Regions from separate parts of the Homo sapiens genome. Here region 1 is linked to region 2. The links are contacts of gene promoters, found by promoter capture Hi-C in human tissues and cell types (Jung and others, 2019). All regions are on one chromosome and are shown on one strand. Each heading gives the region's core, a stretch centred on a gene start or on the middle of the fragment in contact. The rest is flanking DNA. Distances are from core to core; before and after follow the strand shown.

What was found. Contacts are between HindIII fragments. The study calls those that stand out against the background at their distance.
Region 1: a contact is called between a fragment that was not itself captured here and the fragment with the promoter of KRTAP19-6 in region 2, in 1 of the 25 tissues and cell types used here (hippocampus).

The regions. Positions count from the first base shown.
Region 1 is chr21:30,717,339-30,723,977 of GRCh38, reverse strand. LOC105372773 (a long non-coding RNA gene) reads left to right here. Exons shown (of 3, transcript XR_937655.3): 2 at 1,702-1,878. It overlaps KRTAP21-3 (keratin associated protein 21-3), which reads left to right and starts at 5,201. Exons shown (of 1, transcript NM_001164435.1): 1 at 5,201-5,453. The coding sequence starts at 5,219. The coding sequence ends at 5,395. The HindIII fragment of the contact is 4,254 bases long and covers 1-4,024 here.
Region 2 is chr21:30,538,989-30,545,237 of GRCh38, reverse strand. It overlaps KRTAP19-6 (keratin associated protein 19-6), which reads left to right and starts at 3,374. Exons shown (of 1, transcript NM_181612.3): 1 at 3,374-3,703. The coding sequence starts at 3,405. The coding sequence ends at 3,581. The HindIII fragment of the contact is 7,735 bases long and covers 2,164-6,249 here.

The sequences.
Region 1 (6,639 bases), core at 648-3,147, 180 kb before region 2:
GAACAAAACTTGAGATATAACAGCTTATGTGTCACAGATGAAAAGACTGGCAGGAGTTCATAGGAAAGGAAGATAATGAGGACTCCGGGAACTGCAGAAAGCTTCTGTCGAAGGGGAAATGAACTGGGCTTGGAAGAACTGCATTAATAGATTAGAAAATCAGAAATTCAAGGTGGGAGAGTCACTGGGGACAGAGGCAGAATGGGCATTAAATCGGCTGTTTAGGGGAAATGGTTGGTGTCTTGCACATGAATGTATTTAACAAATAATGTGATGATTACCATGACTTAGAGTGGTAAACAGATTTGGAATGGTTAGGGGAAGAGGTATATTATGAGAGATCTGTGAGCCCAGGCAGAGGATATAGAATTAGCACAGTAGGAGATTCAGAATATTAAGCAGAAGAAATGCATGATAAAAGTAATATGTAGGAAATATAAATTTAGAAACAATGTGCAGAATAGGTTGGACAGTGTGGAAACGAAAGATGCATTGAGTTCCTGGAGCTAAGGACTTATTGGGGTGGGGGGGTCCAAGAGTGAGAAGATTAGGACCAGAATTAAGCCTGTTGCAGTAAGAGTAAGAAAATAGATACCAAAATTTTGTATGGAAAATGATTTGTTTCAGTGACATAAACAAATGCATAAATGTGGTACTTTTGAATGTGGGTATTCATCAAGAAAGGAAATGTTATTAACAGGGAGAAATATTTTTAAAATTTAGTTTTGCCAGAGAGATGTATCTGGTTTTGGATATGTTGATTTGAGGTAATAATACATTCAAAAAAATTATCTAGCTAAGATTTGTATATTTAAGGAGAGTACACGACATATCAATTTGAAAGTAACTGATATTAATTTTTTATTTAAAGCTGTAAATGTGAGAGAAAATATTTACTCACACACATTTATTCCTTAAGTTTTAATGGATCACTTTCTGTAAGTCAGACATTGTAGTGGGAGTACAAATGGGAAATTAATAAGAGAATTTAGAGAGAGAAAGTCAAGGAATTGAATCTAGGAAGGGCTCCTTAGTTAGAGTTTGGGTAGAGTCAGAGGAATAAATGAAGAAAACACATGAAAGGTACAGTTGTAAAAAGAGAATGAGGATGGTGTTGAAAAGGGTTGGAAGTAGAGGAAATGATACCTTGTGGCAGCAGAGGTCAACGATAACCATGGAGAAGAAATGTGACTGGCATTGGCAAAAGAAAACATTAAAAATCTCTTAGGGAAGAGTAGGCAGAAGAAGGGAGTAGATTTGAAGAGACTGATGAAGATAGAGCCATAGAGCAATAAAAGTAGAAACAAGTTAGGATACCACGTTGGTGGAGAGCTAATAATTTGAAGGAAGAAAAAAATACCTCATCTTCTGAGACTGAAGGGAAAACACAACAGAAATATGACTTATTTTCAATACAATCTTTTTTTCAAAATTAAACATATATTTTTACATAAATCTATAATGATTAAATATTTTTTGCATATAATCTACTCTTATAAATTATATATGCATTTAAATGTGAACATTAAATGGATGCTGACTTTGAACTAAAGGTATTTCTATTAATATTATCACCGTATTTAATTTTTACATGAATATTTTGGAGAATGAGATAAATTAAATCTAACAAAGTGAATTATAAAATATCTAGTAGAATAATAAATTGCTTATTTTCTTCTTTCTATTTAAAAAAATTTGCAGGCAAATGAATGTGAACATTCACATTTTCTTTCCCCTGACGTAGAGAAATCTTCATGAGGATGGAGAACATAGGAGTTAAGCCACTTTCAGAGGTGGGAATGGAAATTTTCAGATTTGATGATGTTCCAGGTAGAGAAATAACACCATTGATTCAAGAAAGAAAAATGGGCCTAAAAGGTCAGTAGTATATTTGGTAAGAAGTAGAAAATAGCTGGGGGAAGAATATGAAACTTAATTTTACCATCACATATTTTGGAAATTTATTGGTGATTTTACAGAGAGGGCTATTATGGTCAAAGACATAGTTGTATACTTTACAAATGAAGGCTAGGGGTATACAAATTCCGAATTTTACTTAAAGTGGCACAGGGTCATCACTGCTATTAACATGAGACCTTAGCTGAGAAAATGAAAGGGAAAATATGGGAAAGATGAATAAATTTGCAATAAATTTTGCATTTGACTTAATGTGGTGAATTTTTACTAATGAAAAGCTGAAAATAATTACATAATATGTCATCAATAATCGGGAAATTAAGCAGAAACAAATTTTCAGAATACGAATGAATTCTTATATGGTTAGGAAATACTTTTCAGAGCAACTCAGCATTTTTGGGTCAAGAGAAAAATAGCAACCACAATTCCTTACAGTCACATGAAAGTCAAAAGTCTGAAAAGGAACAGATACTTAAGTGTATGAAATGATAGAAAAAAAAATCCACAATAAAATACATATTGCAGTTCTAATTTCCCTGTACAAAGTAAGATGCTTGCAGGGGTATAGAATGTACAGAGCAAAATATAAAACAAAAAATAAAAATAATAACAAGGTTCTCACTTTTAAAGAGACTGCATATATTAAAATAGGTAACATGAGACATATATGCAAAGAAACACATGATACATCATAATACGGATAATTTGCAGCAAAAGATGGTTCAAATAAAGTATCAATTAAAAACATTTTTTTTAGAAAGATGATCTCACTCTGTCACCCAGGCTAGAGTGCAGTGGTCTGATCATAGGTCACTGCAGCCTCAAATTCCTGGGCTTAAGGGATCCTCCCACCTCAGCCTCCTGAGTAGCTGGGACTATAGGCATGTGCCACCACATTCTGCTAATTTATTTTATTTTATTTTGTAGAGACAGGGTCTCATTATGTTGCCCAGGCTAGTCTGGAACTCATGCCCTTAAGTAATCCTCCTGCCTTAGCCTCCCAAAGTGGTGAAGTTACAGGTGTGAGCCACTGTGCTCAGGTACCAAATTTTAGAAGCTTTTTTCAGATTGTCTAAGATTCAATCCTCACTGAGCATCTTAAATATAGATTTTCAACTCTCATGGGCAAGAAAATACCATATTTAGGTTGAGTTGAGACTAATTTTGTAATTGAGTCCCATCAAAGGTTTATTTTCAAAATATTCAGTTTAATCTAGGCAAAACTGCTTACCCAATGGTTATTTTAAAAGATGACCTTCGAGACCATCCTGGCTAACAAGGTGAAACCCCGTCTCTACTAAAAATACAAAAAATTAGCCGGGCGCGGTGGCAGGCGCCTGTAGTCCCAGCTACTGGGGAGGCTGAGGCAGGAGAATGGCGTGAACCCGGGAAGCGGAGCTTGCAGTGAGCCGAGATTGCGCCACTGCAGTCCGCAGTCCGGCCTGGGCGACAGAGCGAGACTCCGTCTCAAAAAAAAAAAAAAAAAAAAAAAAAAGATGACCTGTTTGACTTAATGTGGCCTATTTGCTTGTGCTGTATAAAAACGCCAACAGTCTCTTTAGTGATTTGGAAACTTGAACACTCATAAGATTTTCATATTTGAACATATACTCTAAGACGATAACTTTCAAAAGAACTTAAAAGTTATTTCTCAACTTAAAAAGTTATTTTGTTACACAAATATGTTAGTTTATTGAAGAATGTCAAGCTGGTTTTCTTTACACAGTTGTCCTCCTAAGGATAATTAAAATGCTATCATGGCGTTCCAGTTTGTACTCCTACTACAATACCTGGCATTTAGGTGCAAGTAAAACTTACAGCGCATATGTAAATTGTGAATACTCTGAAGGTGTTTTTATTTTATAGTGTTTGATAGCACATTTTAAAATCTTGGAAACTCTATTTCTTGGAATACATTTTAATACCTCCCAGTCCTAGTGTTCCTGGAAACATAATTGGAAAATAAAATGCCACAAATTCAATGCAACCATGGCTAGTGCTCAAGGAAAGATCTTTGCTCAAGAGAATAATTTAGCAAATAATGGTTTCGAAGAAATAGGACATTACTAAGTACACTGGATAAATGGTTGTGATTTCTGTATCTCAAAATATTGAGCTGATTATGCCATTAATTTGCTCAAAATCTTCTCTGGTTCTCCATTACCTTTAGAATGAATTCCACACTTTTTACCTTAATATTCAAAGCTCTTTATTATTTGGCCCCAGTTTATTATACTTTTTTAAAATCTATTTTATTCCCTAAAGAAAAAAAGAAATTCCTGCCTTCACAGATATCCTATATTCCAGTGAGAAAAACAGTCAACAAAATTAGTAAAATGCAAGTCTATCATATGGTGATAAATGGCTTGATAAATGCTAAGTAGAGAATAAAGATATATCTGTGGGAGGGTGCTAGCTATAAATAATACTGTTCAGGGAGGGCCTCCTTGAGTGACATTTGAACACACTCTGATGGCAATGAGGGAATGAGTCATAGATATGGGTGTTAAATTGTAAAAACTGCAGGTGAAAGCCCAGCATGGATGAAGGCCCTAAGTGGACCTGGTCTGGATTGTTTTGAGGTCTATTTCATAGGATTTCTCTTTCCTTTTTCTCTAACCGCATCAATCTGAGACTTTTTTTGTGTAAATGTTTCTCTTCCTTACTAAGCTGGGAGTTCATTGAAGGTCTGTTCTTGGTCTTATTTATGTTTTTCATTTTTATTTTTATGTTATTTTCAGCAGTGCCTACTGTCATGTTCTGTTTTTTAGGAAAGTTCTCAATAAATTCTAATATTATAGAATTGAACGCATGTTTCTCAATTTAGCCTTCCTATGCCTATCCTCTCCTGAGTAGTACAGTTGTGGATTGGATGGTAATACTGGTGGCACCTGAAAAGGTAGGAATCACTAAGCCCCTTCCTTTCTCTAGGAGGCTGGGGATGGGGATTCTCAATGTTTTGGGTTAGAGCTGAGGGAAGTACTTCCCTGCAAGATTTAGCATCATGATATTTGTGGAGTGTACATTTGGGGCTCACTGAGAACATGTATACAGAGTGTACAAATTACTTTTTACAGTCTATGATTAACTTGCAGGAATTAAATGAAGGTCTAAAATGAGAGGCTTTCTTAGGACACAGAATAAAACAACAACAAGCTTGTTAAATATAAATTCTTGTGGGAATGAGAAGGCAAAGTAGGGATGGCACACACTTTGCAGACCTCTTATTATATAGAAAGATCCCAAGGGTTCCAAACTCCAGAAATGCTGTTACCTGGCTGAATTCTCATCTCCTGACACTATGTATTTCAATTACAAAAGTGTGTGTGGGAGCTGTGGATTTGGCTCTTGCTATGGTTGTGGGTATGGCTGTATACACAGCACCCACTGTGGCTGTAACGGTTATTATGGTTGTTATGAAAATAAATATTCTGTTATAGATGATCTGATATTTTTTGCTTCTAAGAAATGCCATTGAGCATTGTTTCTTATTTAGTTTCTCAAAGATCTGTTCTGCTTTAATCACCTTCAATCCTGATAGTTCTCCGTTAGAGAAAAATGACTCATCTGGTGAAAACTCCATTTGTCTTCAAAGTACCTGTTAGTCATAGACATAATGTGGTTTCACTGAGAGATGGAAAATATGACTATTTTGAAATTTTGAAAAATATAAAATGCTCTTTGTGTGCGTGTGTGAGTCAACACCAATTTGGGGCATGTTTTACCCCCTTGAAAGCCAGACCACTATGTAGATTAGTTGATCCTTAGCTTCTTAGAAATTTCTTCTTAACTTTCAATAACTCTTTTTCTCTTTATCTTTTCTACTCTACATAAAACTTGAGTTATTTAATTGTCAGTATCCACCACATATTTAATATTAAATAAATATGTACCTGTTAATTAGATATACTTCTAAATATACAAAATGAAGAAAGGAAGTGGAATGATATCATCCTTAGTGTAGAATAGTAGATTATTATCAGCCAAAGAAAAGGGAGGAGGAGAGAGAATCACTGAAACATTTTTTTTTTTTTTCGAGATGGAGTCTCGCTCTGTCACCCAGGCTGGAGTGCAGTGGCGCGATCTTGGCTCACTGCAACCTCCGCCTCCCAGGTTCAAGTGATTCTCCTGCTTCAGCCTCCCAAGTAGCTGGGATTGAGGCACCCGCCACCGCGCCTGGCTAATTTTTGTATTTTTAGTAGAGACGGGGTTTCACCATGTTGGCCAGGCTGGTCTCGAACTCCTGACCTTATAATCCACCCGCCTTGGCTACACACACACACACACACACACACACACGAACACAATGATTCTAATTCTAATTCCGTCGGCCTTTTCTCAAACATTCTCATAGACAGTTCTGTCACTTTTTTTGGGATTCTGGTTAATATGAACTCCTTAGGAGACTTTGCCTAACATTCCACTTGAAATAGAAATGACATTCTTACACTATTTCCCTGTTCATCACCTTGCATCTACTTCTCCTCTTCCTCCTCTTCTCCCTTCTCCTCCTCCTTCTACTTCTCCTCATATCTTTCTCTCTCTCAAAATCAAAGTCAAAAATCAGTTGTTTTTTTCTTCAGTTATATTTGTTACATAATTATAAAATTATTTAAGAAAGCCCGGTGACAGAGTGAGACTCATCTAAAAAAAAAAAAAATTCCTGACTCCATTCCTGTGGTGGCGAAGGAATTGCTCTATGAGACTGCTATGTATGATAAA
Region 2 (6,249 bases), core at 2,125-4,624:
CAGTGTGATGTGTTGTATCAACAGCATGAAGGACAAAAACCATATGATCATTTCAATTGATGCTAAAAAAAGCATTTGATATAACAACATTCCTTTATTACAAAAATGGAGGGCCGGGCACAGTGGCTCATGCCTGTAATCCTAGCACTTTCAGAGGCCAAGGCGAATGGATCACTTGAGGTCGGGAGTTGGAGACCAGCCTGACCAACATGGAGAAACCCTGTCTCTACTAAAAATCCAAAATTAGCCAGGTGTGATGGCGCAGGCCTGTAATCCCAGCTACTTGGGAGGCTGAGGCAGGAGAATCGCTTGAACCCGGGGGGTGGAGGTTGCAGTGAGCCGAGATCGCGCCATTGCACTCCATCCTGGGCAACAAGAGCCAAACTCCATCTCAAACAAAAAAAGGGGGGATGGAGGAACTGAGAGTTTTTTCTCTAATATCTGGAACATGAGGAGGGTGACCACTTTGACCATATTTATTCATAGTACTGGAAGTGCTAAACAGAACAGTGAGACAAGAGAATGAAATAAAGTACATCCAAATTAGAAAAGAAGAAGTCAAATGTCATTGTTTGCAGATGATGTAATTTGACATTTAAAAACACCTAAAGATTCAGTCAAAATTATTAGAACTGATAAACAATTCAGTAAATTTGCAGGATATAAAATCAACATACACAAATCAGTAGCATTTCTATATGCCAACAGTGAACAATGTGAAAAAGAAATTTAAAAAGTAATCCCTTTTACAATAGTGACATGTAAATTTAAACACTTAGAAATTAGTGCAACCAAATAAGTAAAAAACGTCTACAATGAAACTATAAAATGCTGATGAAAAAATTAAGAGGACACAAAAAATGGAAAAAATATTCCATGTTCATGGATTGGATCAATATTGTTAAAATGTTCATACTACCCAAAGTGCTCTAAAGATTCAATGCAATCTTATTAAAATACCAAAGACACTCTTAACAGAAATAGAAAAAAAAATTCTAAAATTTTTAAGGAGCCAAAGAAGACACAGAACAACCAAAGTTATCTTGAGGAAAAAGAACAAAACGAAGGATCACATTACCTTCAAATTATATTACAGAGCGATAGTAACCAGTAACAGCACGGTACTGTAATAAAAACAGACACATAGACCAACGGAACAGAAGAGAGAACCCAAAAACAAGTTCAGACACCTACTCATTTTTGACAAAAGTGCCAAAAACATACACATGGGAAAAGACAGTCTCTTCAATAAATAGTGCTGGGAAAACTGTACATTCATGTGCAGAAGAATGAAACTAGTCCCCTATCTCTCCCCATATACAAAAATCAAATCAAAATGAATTAAAGACTTAAATAAAAGTAAACTATGAAACTGCTATAAGAAAACATTGGGGAAACTCTCTAGGGCATTGGTCTCAGCAAAAATTCCTTGAGTAAGATTCCACAAGCACAGGCCACCAAAGCAAAAATGGACACATAGGATTACATCACGTTAAAAAGCTTCTGCACAGCAAAGGAAGCAATCAACAAAATGAAGAGACAACCCACAGAATGGAAGAAAATATTTGTAAACTATGCATCTGACAAGGGATTAATAACCAGAATATATAAGGAGCTCAAACAAATCTGTACGGAAAAAAAAAATCTAATAATCTGATTAGAAATGGACAAAAGAACCAAATAGATGTTTTGGAATCCTCATTCGCTATTAGTGGGGATGGAAATTAGTACAACCACTATGGAGAACAGTTTGGAGGTTTCTCAAAAAACAAAGAATGAAGCTACCATATGACACAGAAATCCCACTGCTGGTGCTAAACTCATCTTTAGCATCAAACCTAATCTCTAGTCCCTGACACCATGAGCTACTACAGCAGCTACTATGGAGGCCTGGTATACATCCAAAGGAAGGGAAAACAGTATATCAAAGAGATATGTGCACTCCCATGTTTGTTGCAGCACTGTTCATAATAGCAAAGATTTGGAAGCAACCTAATTTTCCACCAACAGATGAATGGATAAAGAAAATGTGGTATGTATACACAATGGAGTACTAGTCAACCATAAAAAATAATGAGATCCTGTCATTTGCAACAGAATGGATGGAACTGGTCGTCATTATGCTAAGTGAAATAAGTCAGGCACAGAAAAACAAACTTTGTATGTTCTCACTTATTTGTGGGAGCTAAAAATTGAAAACAATTGAACTCATGGAGATAGAGACTAGAAGGATGGTTAACAGAGAATGGAAAGGGGAGTAGGTGGGTGCAGGGTAGGGGTGGGGAGGGATGTGAGTGATGGAGGAGTAGGGGTGGTTAATGGGTACAAAGGAATAGAAATGATGAATAAGACCTAGTATTTGATAGCACAAAAGTGTGGCCATACTAAGTTATACTCTCTTAGTTATTTTAAAATGTATAATTAAATTGCATTTAAATTAAATTATTGATTTAATCGAACATTTTAAAATAAGAGAGTGTAATTGAATTGCTTTAACACAAAGGATAAATGCTTGAGGGGATGGATACCCTATTTATCATTTACCAGTGATTATTACTCCATTAACCAGTGATTAGTATGCATTGTCATGTCTGTATAAAAGTATTTCATATACCCCATAGATATATATACTCTACTATGTATTCTTAAAAATAAAATTTGAAAAAAGAAAAATAATATTTAATGGAACTTCATGGGAAAAGTGTATGCAGAGGAAAAGGTACACTTTTGAAGTTAATGGATGAATAAAAAATTGGGAAGAAGCCTAACAAAAAATTGGCAGAGGAAGCTAATTGAAGGTTTCTCATAGAAATTAAGGCAAGAAAGCTTTACAAAAGAATGAATGGATGGAAGGTTAGCAATGTCAAAGGTCAATTAAAGTTCAAATGAGTCAAAAACCAAGGTTTCCTCTAAATTTGACTACTGGAAATCACTAATGACTTTGTGACTATGCCCTGACTACCATGAAGAGAAGTCCTTGGGTTCTGGGAATGAAGTAACCAAGACGATGGACTGCAAATTAAAAAGAAAAGCAATATGAGGTTATGTAATTACAGCGTTACTGGAAGCTATCAACCCGATTAGACCATTTTAATTACAACACCAGCCTGGCCTTTGAAGTGGCTATAATCATTTTTCATCTTCAAAATATTTTGTTCTTAGGAATGCAAACTAAAGACTAAAAGTCTTTAAATAATAGTTTGGACCCTTTGTTACATAAGAAAAGAAAAAAAATAAACAATTGTTAGACTTAAAATTATTCTGTTATGTGGAAATAAGATCACCTGTCATTGTTGTTCATGACACCCACTACTTAGAGTATAAAATCATTCTGAGAAGTTAGAGACACCTACACTCAGGAAACTCATCATTAGCATTGAACTGAATCTCTAGTCCCTGACACCATGAGATACTATGGCAGCTACTACAGAGGCCTGGGATATGGCTGTGGAGGCTTTGGTGGTCTGGGCTATGGCTGTGGCTGTGGAGGCTACAGATATGGCTCTGGCTATGGAGGCTATAGATATGGCTGCTGCCGCCCATCATGCCGTGAAGGATATGGATTCTCTGGATTCTACTAAAAAACTTGCTGATTCTCATACTCTAACTCCAAGATCTTGCCCGTATGCTTCAGCAAGGCGAACACTTTTCTCAATGTAGAGAAAATACCTACCATTTTTTGGCTTCATGCTCCAGAAGGAACTAGCCATCAGTTTTTATGGAAGAATCTGGAATCATTACATTGAATCAGGGTTTCACCTATTATTATTTAGTCACTGACATCTGTTGTGACATGTATTTTAAAATAGTTTTAAATAAACACGTTTAACTTGAATAGCAAACATGGCTTTATCAATTCATTTTAGTACATTTCAAATGCATTGATGAGACTTCAATCAAGCTGTTTGTCTTCTTTCCTCTGAATTGGTGTTTTTATTTCAACAGTTTTGCCTCAATAATATATTTTATTCAACATATATTCATTGTGTGTCTCCAAATTTGGGCACCATTCTAAGTCCTGAAGATATAAAAGAATAAGATGGACAAAATCACTGTGTACTTTCATCTGTCTTTACTTTTTATCTGTTTTCAGTGGTTTTGTGTGTGATTTTGTTTTTAGAATATGATTATGTACACTATTATTTTTATGACTTAGTTTTAAACAATAACTTATTGCAATCTTCATTCCAATTAGTGTGTTTGTATTCTGAGGTTTATCTCAAAGCACAGTAATTCTATGTTAATCAATGAAAGCGAATTTTAAATAAAACATTGAGTTAATATAAATAATATTTGTAATAATACGTAAGGTCTAAAGAATGCTATCAAAGCTCGCATGTACCCAACACTGACTTATCAAATGTATAATGTCCTTTATGTATAATCAATTTTAAACTATTGAACATATGAGAATCTACTCTACCTCCTTGACAAGTTAAATTACTTGTCTTTCTGTGTTCCTACCTGTAGAGTTCAAGCCTTGCTTCCCAAAAGATATTATTTCTCAAAAGTAAACCTGAGGGATGTCTGAATTAAAAACACCGAGAGAGGCCGGGCACGCTGGCTCATGCTTGTAACCCCAGCACTTTGGGAGGCCGAGGCGGGTGGATCACCCAGGGTCAGGAGTTCGAGACCAGCCTGGTCAACATGGTGAAACCCCGTCTCTACTAAAAAAACAAAAATTGGCTGGGTGTGGTGGCACGTGCCTGTGGTCCCAGCTACTTGGGAGGCTGAGGTGGGAGAATCGCTTGAACCTGGGAGGCAGAAGTTGTAGTGGGCCGAGATTATGTCACTACACTCCAGCTTGGGTGACAGAATGAAACTCTGTTTAAAAAAAGAAAAAAGAAAAGAAAAGAAAAGAAAAAAAAAGAAAAGAAAAACCCCATGACAACATTTTTACCAATTTAATTTTTAATTTTCTGGAGGATAACTTAGATAATTAGTTTTCATTAGTTTTGCTATTGGTCTGCTGACTACTCGTCAAAATTTCCTTGAAAATAACTATTCTAGATAGTACTTAAGGTCTCTTAAATTTCTTAAATTTCAGTAATTCTTGACATACATTTCTACTCCTACCATCTTGCCAGTGAACAATGTTTTTGTAGTAGCTTTCAGGTACTTTCCACTCTATGTCATGTAAGAGTTAGCACAAGACGTTATAAACCTGGAAGATGATTTGGAGGAGATTTGATGTAAAAATAACATCTAAATACAAAATAATAAACTAAAATAGTACCATGTTCCTCTAGAGAGTTCATGTTATGTTTATTTCAAATAAGCGATTAATAATGATGGGAATGGTACTGTTCTGTTTATATGTTATTATTTTTTGTTGTTGTTTAACTGCCTTTTTTGCCTATAGGTATGGTCATTTGACAGCATTTTGGAAGCATCTGCCTAATGCTAATTATTCTTTCTAAACTTATTTTTAAAGTTTTATTTTTAATTGACAAATAGCTTTATATGTTTATGAGGGCACAGTGTTATATTTTGTTATATGTTTACATTGCGGAATGATTACACCAAGCTAACTCACAAATCTACTATCTAACATAGTTATTTTTTAGGGTGGTGAAAACATTTAAAATATACTCTCTGATACTTAATTTAACATATACACGCTTGCTAAAATAATTGAGTTGCAAGCAAAATTGCAAATTATGTAGTCTTAAAAAGTTAATTTATAGGATTGAAAATAAAACTGGCAAGTAAATTTCTCATTCATCAACCAGGCTTTATGCTACTGCTGCCTATTTTCTTTCAAGTACAAAGGTAGAGAAATCACCTTGAATAAAATATTATAAAATAAACAGCATATTCTCTAACCCTTTAGATATTGAAGAATGTATGTACTTTTTTAATCAATAGTTAAGTGTGTCAAATTATTGTGAAATAACATGGAAATTTCTTATTGAGAAAATTAGTTTGGAACAACAGCGAGTCATCCCAACTTTATTTTCTAGACTGGGGAAATAAAAAACAGACTTATTAGTGCCCATTTTAGTTAATGATTATAGATTGTAATATGATTATTAGTTTTTGTATGCGATTGTATGGGTTTTGCAGTCAGGATCTTTAGGTATCCCTTGCATTAATATGATGCCAAACACACAGCAGGTGTTCAATGAATATTTGTTAAAAGAAAAAGAAAACATCAATAACATAATAGAATATTGGGATTCAAGGAAGTTATTGATTAGGACTGATTGGGACCTTCAATGACAAAGTTAAAGTACAAGCTGAAAATGG